Linked DNA regions of Homo sapiens: all the other regions are linked to region 1. The links are contacts of gene promoters, found by promoter capture Hi-C in blood cells and fetal thymus (Javierre and others, 2016). All regions are on one chromosome and are shown on one strand. The core of a region is centred on a gene start or on the middle of the fragment in contact, and the rest is flanking DNA. Distances in the headings are between cores, read along the strand shown. Region 1 holds the start of BIRC2 (baculoviral IAP repeat containing 2). Region 2 has its middle 5.4 kb from the start of MMP20. Region 3 overlaps MMP20-AS1 (MMP20 antisense RNA 1).

Evidence for each region. The method cuts DNA at HindIII sites, captures the fragments that hold promoters and counts their contacts. A CHiCAGO score of 5 or more calls a contact.
Region 2: a contact is called between a fragment that was not itself captured here and the fragment with the promoter of BIRC2 in region 1, in 10 of 17 cell types (M1 macrophages, M0 macrophages, naive B cells and 7 more). The highest score is 8.2, in M1 macrophages.
Region 3: a fragment that was not itself captured here is called in contact with the fragment with the promoter of BIRC2 in region 1 in 9 of 17 cell types (M1 macrophages, M0 macrophages, M2 macrophages and 6 more); the score reaches 14.8 in M1 macrophages.

What each region holds. Positions count from the first base shown.
Region 1 is chr11:102,345,777-102,348,643 of GRCh38, reverse strand. It overlaps BIRC2 (baculoviral IAP repeat containing 2), which reads right to left and starts at 1,430. Exons shown (of 9, transcript NM_001166.5): 1 at 1,268-1,430; 2 at 1-46. RefSeq lists an enhancer at 809-878. The HindIII fragment of the contact is 3,484 bases long and covers 1-2,867 here.
Region 2 is chr11:102,629,130-102,632,284 of GRCh38, reverse strand. No RefSeq gene overlaps it. Among named protein-coding and RNA genes, the nearest start is that of MMP20, 5.4 kb to the right of the region's middle. The HindIII fragment of the contact is 2,441 bases long and covers 478-2,918 here.
Region 3 is chr11:102,647,317-102,650,093 of GRCh38, reverse strand. The region is part of intron 1 of MMP20-AS1 (MMP20 antisense RNA 1); the gene reads right to left. Among named protein-coding and RNA genes, the nearest start is that of MMP20-AS1, 7.6 kb to the right of the region's middle. The HindIII fragment of the contact is 4,636 bases long and covers 1-2,777 here.

The DNA.
Region 1 (2,867 bases), core at 181-2,680:
GCAGGGGGACAAAATAGGGATAGGGAGATTCTTCAGGGTTGTAAATCTGAAAAGAAAAAACAAAAAGTATTTTAGAAAACTGTATGTGCATGCCAAATAGAACTTACATACTCTTCAATTTATTCAGTAAAGTCTAAGAATAATTCACACTTTAGATAATACATCTTAATTCCAGCAATTTGTCACAACTTTCTAAATGAAAAAGCTATTAATTAAAATAAGTAAATGCAACATACTCCCCATAGCACTAACTATACGTGTCTTTAAAACGCACAACTTCAGAGACAGATGGAAATTTTCACACAGGAAACATTTTGTCCTTGCTCTCCTCCCCTTTTCTGGCCTAAAGGTAACTCTGGCACTCTGCTGGAGGCAAAGGCACATTGGTTAAAAAGACAGACAGACACTCCACTACACCCTGTCAGCAGCAGTACAGCAGGAATTAAGACAGCAACGTTAGTTTGTAATATCAAGTCTCTCCACGACTAGGAAAACTGCAGTAAAATGCACCACGAGTTCATTAATATAAACTCTTAAACTCTGCCATTCCCTTACAATTTCAAAGCAACGACCACAGAAAGCAACTCGAAAACAAAACCTAACACAGTGGCCTGTGAAACAGTGGCTCCGGCACTACGACCACTGGCATGATTGCTTTAATTACACCCGGTCTTATATCCTATCTTTAAATGAAAGATTTTTATCTACGTGCACCGCACTGCTGCATTCTCTTTACGCAAATTGCAGCTGGGCAGGGGATAGGATGGAAGGGAAAAGAATAGAAACTATGGGATTTACCCAATAATTTCCCAGAGTTGCTTCTCACAATACACAACAGACGACTACTGGAATGACAGAGCGCAGTGGCAACTATGAAATATGAAATATCGCCGCCACCGAAATATCTTCGTTTCAATGTATTACATTAAAAGAACGCCGAGGGCTAAGTTTAAAACCTTGCAAAAACTGCGAGAAAACATCTTGGTCAAAGTCCAAGGGCCAGAAGAGTGGGCGGCGGCCAGAGGCTTGAAAACAAGTCATTTTAAAAATCGCTTTGACTGCAAGTCTCGAAGTTGGGGCTTCCGAATCCAATAAAACCTTGGCGAGAGTAGAAAGCAGAGAGCCCCCGGCGACCCTCGACCCTTGGCCGAAGGGCCTCAGGCCCCGTCCTTCCTCGTTCGCCGCCACATCAGGGAAGTGGGCCCCCGCGGGCCCTCGCGTCCCCACCCGCCCCACGCCGCCCGAGCCCGGAAGGAGCAGCACTCACCGCAGTGCGGGCGCAGCAAACACGGAAGCTGCGCGGCTGCCTAGAGGCCTCCGCAGAGCCGGGAATCAGCGGCGCCGACAAGGAGATACGGCCCGCTCGGCTCGGATCAGCCCGGGCGCTCCCGAAGCCCGCCGCCCCATCCGGGCTCACTCTGACGCACGATGACGTCAGCGCGCCCGGCCGAGGACCAGCGTTAGCCGCCGCGCGAGGGCGCCCGGGAGGCTGGGGCCGGAAAGCGGAACCGAGAGCGCTTTCCGCCGTGCGGCGATGAACCTCCGGGAAAGACGCTGGGAGGCCAGGATGCCCGGCGCAACTGGACGCTCATCGGGAGTCACGGGGTCGGCCCTCAGGGGAACGGGGACTATCCGTATCAACTCGGTGTTTGTTCGTTTTCTTCACCTTGCGGTTTGTGCCCTCTCCACATTTCCTCTCTGTGTCTACCATTCTCCTGGGGGACGTGGCAAACCGTGAGCCGCTGCGTTTGAGTTTTGGGAAACCCTGCGGAAACGCCCTGGCGCCGGTGGTTTTGCGCGTCCTACCCTGTGTCACCTCAGGGTTATGATCTGGCCCCTGGCAAGGCTCCCCAAGTGTGATGCCTCCCCCCGTCCAGATGACTGCATTTTGAGGATGGAGTCAGTCTGGTGGCATTTTTTGCTTAAGTAAACAATTGTAACCGTTTGTGTAGCATCAGCGTTCAACAGCTGCCTGTGCAAATCGAAAAAAGCGAAACTTTGGAAACTAGGAAGCATCAGATGAATAATTCTGAAGACTTGATGTCAACGGGAGTATCTTGTTTTTAAACTTTTGGTTTTCTGTTCTGGAGACAAACAGTTCATATGCACTAAAGAAAAAAGTGTCATTATTTCAGATGCTCATTGCCAGCAAAGAGAACTGTATTGCAAGTCAGGCTTCACTCCCAGTATTTTCTGAATGTTTCAATAAAATGAAATATATACGTCTGCCTGTGTATTGGTGTACATGCACATATAATTGTACATAAACCAGAGAGGAGCCCAATTTTTTTTAATGCTTAGGTAATAGAAAATTTGTAAATAAAAACCCTTGGCTTTTGCTAGTCATGGACCTTTTGTATCCCCCCGCCATACTCCCCCAATAGTGCCATAGACACAGTGTCGTGCAGTAAATGTTTGTGGTATGACAACCAACGAACGACTTTTGAAGTTGACGCTCTTTGCCCGTTGAATCCGATGCTTGCTTCTCTCTGGGGAACTCCAAGGGGCAAATATTTAAAAAACTTCCAAATAGCAAGCCACTTAATTAGGGAGCCGGGGGAATTCCAAGACCCTGAACCATTTCCCATTTCCTGTCTGTGTCATTTCTGCCTGCCAGTCAGTCACAGAACAGGAGGTCTACTGTTCCAATGTTAATAGTCAAAGAAAGTGAGTGTAACAGTTTGTAATACAGAGAAAAGAAATGCCATGGCTCCCAATGACTAAAAACTTCCAAAAATGCACCTGGGGCTTGGTAGTAGTTTAGTATTTAGTTCAAGTCACTATTTCTCGGAAGGTTTACAGAACATTCCTAACACATGTGGGAAAATATATATAGCAAGAATTGTTCATTCTGAACTCAAGATTAT
Region 2 (3,155 bases), core at 449-2,948, 280 kb before region 1:
TTTGTCTTTCTGATAACAGCCATTTTTACTGGGGTAAGATGATATCTCACTGTGGTTTTGGTTTGCACTTCCCTGTTGACCAAATGCATATTTTCTAAAGCCATCATTCTTTCTACATGTATTTATGTTACCTTTTTACCATAAGGAAGTGCTTTCTCTTCTCCCCATTATTGCTTGTTTATATCAGTACAGACTCATGAGTTTTTATTTCATTCAATGGACCACAATCCATTACTATCATTATGGATTTTGATGCTCAAAGTGTCTTAGATTAACCCAGAGGGGGCTCCAACAAGCTGGATCGTGTCCTTTAAACATTCCTTCATCATTTTACTACCTGGCACCACAATATGCTCCAGGTTTGTCTTAGTTTATTTGGGTCGCTATAACAAAATACCATAAACTAGGTGGCCTATAAACAACAAAAATTTATTTCTCACAGTTATGGAGCCTGGAACACCCAAGATCAAGGAAGCTTTCCCTGATACATAGACGGTGCCTTTCTGCTGTGTCCTTACTTGCTGGAGGGGGCAAGGCAGCTCCCCGGAGCATCTTTAATAAGGACACTTATTCCAATCACGAGGGCTGCAGCCTCATAGCCTAATCACACCCCAAAGGCCCCACCTACTAGTGCTATCACCTTGGGAGCGAGAATTTCAACATATGAATTTGGGTGGGGGGGGTGGGCAACACAAACATTCAGACGATAGCACTGGGGATAAGGTAGATCTTTCAAAATAGTTAAATTGATTTTACCTGTAGACAACACTCTAAGAAAAAATGGAGATGTTCAAAAGAAGCTGCCAGGCAAACTATCAGCTTCCAGAATTGCTGATTTGTATGCTGAAATAAGTCTATAATTTAGCAAATTGACTCACTAAAATGACTGGGCAAGTGGAATGTGCTCTAATGGGACTTTTGACATCCCGCCCTCTACACAGGCAGCTGTAAACACATTTACTATCCAATCTCAAAAGCTCACATTGGTGATCATTGCAATATATGCCAGAGATTTTACAAGAATAAACAAAATGCTCTTTATACTGACAGCTCGTCTCTCACAGTTCATGACCTAAGATAAACATAACGGTAAGCCTTGTGACTGGACCTCCTATAACCCTCCCCTTGGTGCCCCCGGCAGCCTCCATCCTCACTCCCCTCCGATCCATCCCGCATGCTCCTTTCAGAGCAATCTTCCTGTAAATGCAAACCTCATCATGTCATTGCTGGGGAAGAAACTCTCCAGTGGTTTCCCATCACAAACCATTAATGTCTAGATGCCTTAGCCTGGCACACAAGATGCCTGTGACGTTGCCCAGCACACTCCTCTCCAGGCCCTTTAAATAAAACCCCACAAGCCCTCCAAGCCTTTGCTGCACTGTGGCTGCTCCGGATTTGTTCCATGCCATTCTGCCCATCTTCTGCCTTCTCTGTTTTGCCAACCATATTCCAGCTCTGCACCCTGGAGCCTCATGTCAGTCCTGCCCTTTGGATCTGCAGCTTGTGCTAGAAATTGCTCTCTGGCTTTCCCTTTGACCAAGGTTCACCCGGCAAATGACTCCTGGCCTCTGCTTTTCTGTGTCAGTACCTGGAACTGTGGGTGAGAGGCGTCCTCCAACAGACCGGTCTCTGCCTTTCTTTTCTGCCCACCTCCTGTTGGCTGCCCCCAAACTGCCTTGTACATAGAAATATCTTCAGTTTCTTAGAAGAGATGCTCTTCTTTAACATCTCCTTACCTCATCGCCTCATCTGCTTGGAATTTCCCCCTTCCCACTACCTGTCACTCTCCTTCCTTCTCACTGCACCCTTCTTGCAGGTGACTTCTAATTCCATTAGCAATCAGCCCTCAACTAAAGCCCCATCCCCATGGAAAGTCTGCCCTGGCCCCTACTTTCCTCCATTTTACTCTCATTCTCAGCTGCCCAGGCAGAGATGGGCTTTCCCTCTTCTGCCCTCATTTGGACCTTTAAATACCTTTCTTTTTTTTTTTTTACTAATTACACTGTAAGGTATTTTGAGTGTATATCTGAGTCTCTCCCTGGAGATTCTAAGACTCTGGTTAAGGACAGGTTTTATTTGCCTTTTGTACCTCCAGGACTAAGTCTAGTGCCAGCATGTAGAATAAATACAAGAGTTCTAGACTGAGTAAATAGAAAGAAGAATCACAACTGAACAAAAGAATAAGTTAAATATGCCACTGAGTTCATCCTGTATGTCTTCTGTTTACTCAAGTACAAATATAAAGGGTACGTTGATATAGTCTTTCACACTTTCACTTACTGTTTTGAAATGTAATGCATGGTAGCATTAAAGGAAATTTTATAAGAATTGGTAGGTGTAAGGCCCTACCCCTCACACTACTGTTTTCTTTACCCCAGGTTTCCTTTTATTCCTTTTTTTTTTTTTTTTTGCCTATATACTTCTCCTTGGCAGATACAGAATCAAATGTTGTGTAATTTTTATTTGCCTTTTTGGTTAAAATTGTCCTTTTAATATTTTACACATTGCTAAATCATTTATACTTTTTTAGAAGGATTCTACCAATTTGCAATGTAAAGACACATTTTTATCACTAAGATTAAGTCGATCTTTATCTGATTTTACTCCAAGTTCAATTTTATTGCAGCAGTAAATTTTGAGCTCCTAGAGTGTTAAAACAGTGTTTCCTATCTCTGTATTCCTGGTGCCTAACAAACAACTGATACTTAATAAATCTTTGTTGAAAATATGAAGGTATTTTACTTATTGTATATGTAAAAATTATATCAATAAGTATTTATAAATTATATATGTGTGTGTATATATATATATATATATGAATAAAATTTGGCAGAGCAATCTAATCTAAGTTCTTTTCACATACCCCAAGCCTGAGCAGATAGGCAAAACCCCACTGAACCAAATCTTTTCTAAAAGCTTGATATTCTATCCTATACTCAAAGACTGCTGAAGGCAACCTCACAACCTTCTTTAATGGTTCATTTTAATGCTAATAATTGCCAAATCAGAAGGCTGTTTGCTTCTTCCTCTCTAACCAAAGTTACCTACAGTACAAAGTAAGTGTATTTTTTTTTCTTCCCTTCCCTTCCTTTTTCTCTTTCTTTTTCTGTTCTTGGTGAAAACAAACCAGTTGGCTTCTGGATATAAGCTTGCCA
Region 3 (2,777 bases), core at 249-2,748, 300 kb before region 1:
GCAACGACTTCATGTCTAAAACACCAAAAGCCAAAATTGACAAATGGTATCTAATTAAACTAAAGAGCTTCTGCACAGCAAAAGAAACTACCATCAGAGTGAACAGGCAACCTACAGAATGGGAGAAAATTTATGCAACCTACTCATCTGACAAAGGGCTAATATCCAGAATCTGCAGTGAACTCAAACAAATTTACAAGAAAAAAACAAACAACCCCATCAAAAAGTGGGCGAAGGATATGAACAGACACTTCTCAAAATAAGATATTTATGCAGCCAAAAAACACATGAAAAAATGCTCACCATCACTGGCCATCAGAGAAATGCAAATCAAAACCACAGTGAGATACCATCTCACACCAGTTAGAATGGCGATCATTAAAAAGTCAGGAAACAACAGGGGCTGGAGAGGATGTGGAGAAATAGGAACACTTTTACAGTGTTGATGGGAGGGTAAACTAGTTCAACCATTGTGGAAGTTAGTGTGGCGATTCCTCAGGGATCTAGAACTAGAAATACCATGTGACCCGACCATCCCATTACTGGGTATATACCCAAAGGACTATAAATCATGCTGCTATAAAGACACATGCACACGTATGTTTATTGCGGCACTATTCACAATAGCAAAGACTTGGAATCAACCCAAATGTCCAACAAGGATAGACTGGATTAAGAAAATGTGGCACATATACACCATGGAATACTATGCAGCCATTAAAAATGATGAGTTCATGTCCTTTGTAGGGACATGAAGCTAGAAACCATCATTCTCAGCAAACTATCGCAAGGACAAAAACCAAACACCGCATGTTCTCACTCATAGGTGGGAATTGAATAATGAGAACACATGGACACAGGAAGGGGAACATCACACACCGGGGACTGTTGTGGGGTGGGGGGAGGGGAAAGGGATAGCATTAGGAGATATATCTAATGCTAAAAGACGAGTTAATGAGTGCAGCACACCAACATGGCACATGTATACATATGTAACAAACCTGCACGTTGTGCACATGTACCCTAAAACTTAAAGTATAATAATAAGAAAATAAAATAAATAAATAAATAAATAAATAAAATAAGTGGAAGGTAAACATTTAGTACACATGGACACAAACAACGGAACAATTGACACCAGGGCCTTCTTGAGGGTAGAAAGTGGGAGAAGGGTGAGGATTTAAAAACTACCTATTGGGTACTATGTTGATTACCTGGGTGACAAAATTATTAGTACGCCAAATCCCTGCAACATGCAATTTACCCATATAACAACCTGCACATGTACCCCATGAACCTAAAATAAAAGTTGAAAACAATTGAAAATATAATTTTAAAAAAAAGAAAAAAAAAAAAAGAAGCAAAGGACTGTTGGGGGAAATGATTGCTTCGTCATTCCTGGTGTTTCCTTTGTAGGGAGAAAGCTCCGCAGCCATAACACATTGTTACCTACTCCCCGATGGATGAGTTGGAAGGGGAAAGTGGCCATGCCAAATCTATGTTCTCACAGTTCTGGAGGCTGGAAAGTCCAAGATGAAGGCACCAGCAGATTTAGTGTCTGGTGAGAACTGCTCTCTATCTCCAAGATGGCACCTCTTATTGCATCCTCATGTAGCAGAAAGTGTGACCAGTTCCCTCACACCTCTTTTAAACATGCTAATCCCAAAGGCTCCGCCCTCATGACTTAAACCCCCACCTCTTAATACTATCACATTGGCAATTAAGTTTCAACACATGAATTTGGGGAGGGCACATTCAGACCATAGCATGGCTCCCTTAGCGTGCTGCAAGGTGTTTCTATCACCACATTTTTCAAAAGTCTTTCTTTTTTTTTTTTTTTTTTTTTTTTTTTTGAGACGGAGTCTCGCTGTCGCCCAGGCTGGAGTGCAGTGGCGCAATCTCGGCTCACTGCAGGCTCCGCCCCCTGGGGTTCACGCCATTCTCCTGCCTCAGCCTCCCGAGTAGCTGGGACTACAGGCGCCCGCCCCCTCGCCCGGCTAATTTTTTTTATTTTTAGTAGAGACGGGGTTTCACCGTGTTAGCCAGGATGGTCTCGATCTCCTGACCTCGTGATCCGCCCGCCTCGGCCTCCCAAAGTGCTGGGATTACAGGTGTGAGCCACCGCGCCCGGCCTCAAAAGTCTTTCTTAAGACAGCAGGACAAGAAGTCCACAACCAAATGATCAGCCTTCATATGATCAATATGCCTTGAATCGGCCAAAGTGAATCCATCAAGCAACTATTACATACACTATTTTAACCTTTAGAATTCTTTTAAAGAGTACCAAAAAAAAAGAACAGCTCACTAGTAGAACAAAATAAGCAGAGTGGGAAACCTAGAAATCCAATGGAAAGCAAAAAATAATGAGGATGACAACAATAATAATGAAGATGATGGCAAAACATAGCTTGTGTTGGCAGTGGTGGTGTTTGACAAACTCCAGGAACTGAGTCACCAGCACTTTCAACAACCTATAAATGCTACAATCTGGAGCAGTCTGGCTTATTTTAGAACCATGTAATCAGCTGTGGGTCTAAAACTAGATGATGGGTGTTGACCTGAGCAGAGAACCAAAAAGAGAGGAAACAAGGTTGTATTTCTGGAAATTAAGCACTATGTTGAAAGAACAAAGGAAGGGAATCATTTATTTAGAAGTATATGTGAAAACGTAATGAGATGAAGAAAAATCTCATTCACCCAAATCCCTGTTAGGGAAAGCATCGTATTTGTCCTGGAATAGATGTCTTGATTAATAACTACTGGTCAAGGGTAAGACT